Regions from separate parts of the Homo sapiens genome. Here region 1 is linked to region 2. Evidence: promoter capture Hi-C in human tissues and cell types (Jung and others, 2019). All regions are on one chromosome and are shown on one strand. Each heading gives the region's core, a stretch centred on a gene start or on the middle of the fragment in contact. The rest is flanking DNA. Distances are from core to core; before and after follow the strand shown.

Region 1 (2,983 bases), core at 219-2,718, 1.6 Mb after region 2:
CAGAACTTATTTATCCTGCATCACTGAAACTTTATGCCCTTTGACCAACATCTCCCCATATCCCCAACCCTTTCAGCCCCTGGAAATTATCATTCGTTGCTCCTGTGAGGTCAACTTTTTAAGATTCCACACGTAAGTGAGATCATGCAGTATTTGTCTTTTGGTGCATGGCTTATTTCACTTAGCCTAATGTCCTCCAGTTTACCAGGTTGTCATGAATGACAGGATTTCCTTCTTATTTTAAGGCTGAATAATATGCCACTGTAAATATATACTGCATTTTCTTTTTCCACTTATTGGTCAATGGTAGATTCTATATCTCAGCTATTGTGAATAAGGCTACTATGAACATGAAAGTGCAGATATCTGCATCCTGGCTAAGACGGTGAAACCCTGTCTCTACTAAAAATACAAAAAAATTAGCCGGGCATGGTGGTGGGCCCCTGTAGTCCCAGCTACTCCAGAGGCTGAGGCAGGAAAATGGCGTGACCCCGGGAGGTGGAGCTTGCAGTGAGCCGAGATGGCACCACTGCATTCCAGCCTGGGCAACAGAGCAAGACTCCATCTCAAAAAAAAAAAAAAAAAAAGTGCAGATATCTATCTCTTTGAGATACTGATTTCATTTCCTTTGTATGTACAGCCAGAAGTAGGATTTCTAGATCATATGGTAGTTCTACTTTTAATTTTTTAGGATTCTCCAAACTGTTTTCCTTAATGACTGAATAAATTTACATTCTCAGCAACATTGTGGAAGGGTTCCCTTTTCTCCATATCCTCTCCAATATTTGTTATCTTTTGTTTTTTGATGATAGCCATTCTAACAGGTATGAGATGATATTTCATCCTGGTTTTGATTTGCATTTCACTGATGATTAGTGATACTGAACATATTTTCATATATCTCTTGACCATTCTTATGTCTTCTTTTGAGATGTATCTATTCAAAACCGTCGCCTGTTTAAAAAATCTGGTTATTTGTTTTCTTGCTATTGAGTTGAGTTCTTTATATATTTCAGATATTAACCCCATATCAGATATATGATTTGCAAATATTTTTCCCATTCTATAGGTGGTCTCTTTGCTATTGTTTGCTTTGCTATGCAGAAGGTTTTTAGTTGGATGCAATACCATTTGTTATTTTTGCTGTTGTTGCCTGTGCTTTTGGGGTCATAGCCAAAAGATTATTGCCCAGACCAATGTCAAGAAGCTTATTTCAAATGTATTTCTTTAGTAGATTTTCTGTTTCAGATTTTAAGTTTTTAATCCATATCAAGTTGAGTTTTTAATTTAGTGTAAAATAAGGGTTCAATTACATTATTCTATGTGTAGATATCTAGTTTTCCAAACATAATTTTAAAAATTATTTTTTATAGACAGTCTTGTTCTTTCACCCAGGCTGGAGTATAGGGGCATGCTCATGGCTCGCTGCAGCCCCAAACTCCTAGGTTTGAACAATCCTCCTGCCTCAACCTTCCAAAGTGCTGGGATAACCAGTGTCAGCCACCAGGCCTGACCCCAGAACCATTTATTAAAGAGATTGTCTTTTCCCCATTGTGTGTTCTTGACACCTTTGTCAAAGACCAATCTAAGTGTGTGGCTTTATTTCTGGGCTCTCTACTCTGTTCCATTGGTCTGTATGTCTGTTTATATGCCAGTAGCATGATGTTGGGTTACTATAGCTTTGTAACATATTTTGAAATCAGGTAGTGTGATGCCTCCAGCTTTGTTCTTGGTCAAGATTGCTTTGTCTATTCAGACTCTTTTGTAGTTCCATATACATTTTAAGATTAAAAAAAAATTTCTGTGAAAAATGCCATTGGAATTTTAATAGGGGTTGCATTTAATCTGTAGGTTGCTTTTGGTCATATAGACATTTTAACAATATTAAATTCTTCCAATTCATGAATGCAAGATATCTTCACATTTATTTGTGTCTTCAATTTCTTTAACAAATCTTTTATAGTTTTCAGTGTATACACTTTCACCTCCTTGGTTAATTTTATGCCTAAGTATTTTATTTATTTATTTTTTTGGGTGCTATTGTAAGTGGCATTGTTTTCTTAATTTCTTTCTTTTTTTTTTTTTTTTTTTTTTTTGGTTAGAGGCAAGGTCTGTTTATATTGCTCAGGCTGGTCTCAAACTCTTGGGTTCAAACAATCCTCCCGCATTGTCCTCTCAAAACACTGAGATTACAGGCATGAGCCACCATACCTGGCCTGTTAAAAGTTTTATGAAAAGATATTGAATTTACTAATGCTTTTTCTGCATCTGTTGTGATGATCGTATGATTTTGTCCTTCATTCTGTTAATGTGGTATATCACACTTATTCATGTGCGTATGTACTATGATCTAAATGTGTCCCTGAAAATGCGAATATTGGAAACTTAATCCCCAGTGCACCAGTGCTGGGAGGTGGGGCCTTTGGAGAGGAGTTTGGGTTAGGAGAATGGGGTTATAAAAGGACTTGACAGAGGGAATTCATCCCTTTTGTCCTTCTGCCTTCCTCCACATGAGGACTCAGCTTTCTTCCCCCCAGAGTATACGGTAAGAAGGCCCTTATCAGAAACCAGAGGCTGGCACTTTGAGCTTGGACTTTTCAGCCTCCAGAACTGTGAAAAATAAATTCACATTCTTTATAAATTACCTGATCTCAGGTATTCTGTTATAGAGGCACAGACAAAGACAGTATGTTGACTCATCCCTGCATCCCAAGGATAAATGCCATGTAATCAGTATATGAACTTTTTTAATGTGGTGTTGAATTGAGTTTGCTAGTCTTTTTTTGAGCATTTTTACGTCTATTTTCATCAGGAATATTGGTGTGTAATTTTTTTTTTTCTTGTAGTATCCTTGTCTGGCTTCGGTGTCAGGATAATGTTAGCTTCATAAAATGAACTTGGAAGTATTCCCTCATCTTAAATTTTTTGGCAGAGTTTGAGAAGTTTTAGCATTAACGTTTCCGTTTTAAAATATATTTTCAAC
Region 2 (2,991 bases), core at 446-2,945:
CAGTTTTCCCCCCTCCACTCTTGGTTGCAGACAGCATGGCTGCTTTACAGCCATCAGAAGAAACACTGCTCATGGTGATGGTCAGCTATCCTTCAACCTGTTCAAGCCAGAAGCCTGAAAACTGAGCATGCTGGATTCTCTTCTCCCTTCTACCTACCTCACTCCCTCAGTGATCTCAGGTCTCACGGCTTCAAACACTATCTGAGTGCTGCTGGAGTCCAGCTTTGTATATGCAGGCCAGACCTCCCCCTGACCTTCAGCTATCCTACAACTGCTGCCTTCACTTCATCTCCTCTTAGCTGTCTAGAGGACATCTCGAATGTCACATGTTCCAAATCAAGCCACTGGCATGCATTCATCTCCTTCCACCTTCTCTCCTTCCCCATCTTGGTTAATGGCAAGTCTATTCTTCCAACTACTCAGAACAAAAATTTGAACTCATCTTGACTCTTCTCTTCCTCTCACATTAGTCATTAATTCATCAGCAAATCCTATAGGTTCTTCCTTAAAGTATATCCACAAGCTGACCCCTGTCACCACCGATGCCACTTAGTGCAAGCCAAGAACCTCTTGGTTGGTCTCCCTGCTCCTGCTTTTTGCCCCCCACTGATTAGTCTCAACCCAGCAGCCAGAATGATCCAGTTAAAACCCAAGTCAGATTGTGTCTCTCCTCTAAGGGCTCCCCTCTCACTCAGAGGAAAAGCCAAAGTTCCTTCAATGCAACCAGGGGGTGTCCTGCATGGTCCTCCTGCCCCCCGCCCCCTTGCCTCTCTTATTCCACTTCCCATCAGGCTCCACCCTGCTCTCTTTGCTTCAGCCATGCCGGCTGTTCCTCAGACATGCCAGCATACTCTTGCCTTGGAACCTTCACATTTATCATTCTGTCTGCCCCGAACACTCAACCTCAAATAGCTGTGCAGCCCTCTCCTTTACACAAATGGTAACTCTTCCATGAAACCTTTCTCCACCACTCAATGTCCATTTCCAAGCCCAGCCCATGCTCCCCAGCCCCATCCCTGCTCTGCTTTTTTGCCTTCATCCTCATCACTATCTGACCCAGTGGATAGTTTTAATTGTATCTGTCACTAGAATGCAAGCTCCATGAGACACACATTTTTGTCTGTGTTATTCATTGCTCTACTTCCAGTTCCCAGAACAATTTTGGCACATAGCATGTGTTCATTAATTATGTGTTGGTTAAATGAAGGAAGCTTTATGAGGGAAAGAGCATGCCACTCCTCTTCCAGCGTCCCCCTTGGTGGCCAGGGCAGAGCAGGCATTCAGCTGCTCTTGTGGGAGAAGAAGGGACTTGCAAGATCATCTCCCTTAGCTCCCTCATTTTCAGGAGGCCAGGGACAGTGGTCCCCAGGAAGGGAAGGAGAGTCCAACCTAGTTTGCCTGATCCCCCATGGGAGGCTGAGGTTGCAAACAGACAGCTGCAGCTCCTTGCAGCTATGCCACACACACAGCCTTTCTGAATCAGAGGGTATTAGTCTTTCCTTCTGAACTCTTGGGATATTCCTGTTTTGATTTGGCTCTAGCAGTGACCACACCGAGTTGTGCAAAGCCTGGGAACAGTGAGGGCATTAGGACCAGGAGTGACGCGCACGCTTGGCTCTGGGTTGTGTCTGGCAGAGGGCTCTCGGCTGAGTGGAGCTATGTGTGAAAGGAAACCAGGCACTGCCTGCCGGCTTTACATCTGTTGATCTGACCTGACTGGAAGCGTCCAAAGAGGGACGGCTGTCAGCCCTGCTTGACTGAGAACCCACCAGCTCATCCCAGACACCTCATAGCAACCTATTTATACAAAGGGGGAAAGAAACACCTGAGCAGAATGGAATCATTATTTTTTTCCCAAGGAGAAAACCGGGGTAAAGGGAGGGAAGCAATTCAATTTGAAGTCCCTGTGAATGGGCTTTCAGAAGGCAATTAAAGAAATCCACTCAGAGAGGACTTGGGGTGAAACTTGGGTCCTGTGGTTTTCTGATTGTAAGTGGAAGCAGGTCTTGCACACGCTGTTGGCAAATGTCAGGACCAGGTTAAGTGACTGGCAGAAAAACTTCCAGGTGGAACAAGCAACCCAGGTTCTGCTGCAAGCTTGAAGGAGCCTGGAGCGGGAGAAAGCTAACTTGAACATGACCTGTTGCATTTGGCAAGTTCTAGCAACATGCTCCTAAGGAAGCGATACAGGCACAGACCATGCAGACTCCAGTTCCTCCTGCTGCTCCTGATGCTGGGATGCGTCCTGATGATGGTGGCGATGTTGCACCCTCCCCACCACACCCTGCACCAGACTGTCACAGCCCAAGCCAGCAAGCACAGCCCTGAAGCCAGGTACCGCCTGGACTTTGGGGAATCCCAGGATTGGGTACTGGAAGCTGAGGATGAGGGTGAAGAGTACAGCCCTCTGGAGGGCCTGCCACCCTTTATCTCACTGCGGGAGGATCAGCTGCTGGTGGCCGTGGCCTTACCCCAGGCCAGAAGGAACCAGAGCCAGGGCAGGAGAGGTGGGAGCTACCGCCTCATCAAGCAGCCAAGGAGGCAGGATAAGGAAGCCCCAAAGAGGGACTGGGGGGCTGATGAGGACGGGGAGGTGTCTGAAGAAGAGGAGTTGACCCCGTTCAGCCTGGACCCACGTGGCCTCCAGGAGGCACTCAGTGCCCGCATCCCCCTCCAGAGGGCTCTGCCCGAGGTGCGGCACCCACTGTAAGTAAGGCCCTTGTTTTCCCTTCCCTGATCCCAGGGCATGATCGGGTGGTAGCAAACTCGGGAATGCAAACTTTCCGTAGCCTGCCTCTCCTGACTTAGAGCAAGTGCTTTTCAAGATGCAGTACCTGGGCCAGCAGCGTCAGCAGCCCCTGGGCACTGGTGGGTTCTCAGAAATGCAGATTCTCAGACCCCATCCCAGACCTGCCAAACAAGAAACTCTGGGTGGGGTCCAGTGGTCTGTATGAACAAGCCCTTCAGGTGAGAATCATTGTCCTAGAAAGC

The links. The method cuts DNA at HindIII sites, captures the fragments that hold promoters and counts their contacts. A contact is called where the count stands out against the background at its distance.
Region 1: a contact is called between a fragment that was not itself captured here and the fragment with the promoter of GALNT15 in region 2, in 1 of the 25 tissues and cell types used here (H1 embryonic stem cells).

Annotation. Positions count from the first base shown.
Region 1 is chr3:17,784,178-17,787,160 of GRCh38, forward strand. No RefSeq gene overlaps it. Among named protein-coding and RNA genes, the nearest start is that of TBC1D5, 43 kb to the left of the region's middle. The HindIII fragment of the contact is 3,894 bases long and covers 1-2,983 here.
Region 2 is chr3:16,172,985-16,175,975 of GRCh38, forward strand. GALNT15 (polypeptide N-acetylgalactosaminyltransferase 15) reads left to right here and starts at 1,696. Exons shown (of 10, transcript NM_054110.5): 1 at 1,696-2,706. The coding sequence starts at 2,168. The HindIII fragment of the contact is 4,561 bases long and covers 1-2,671 here.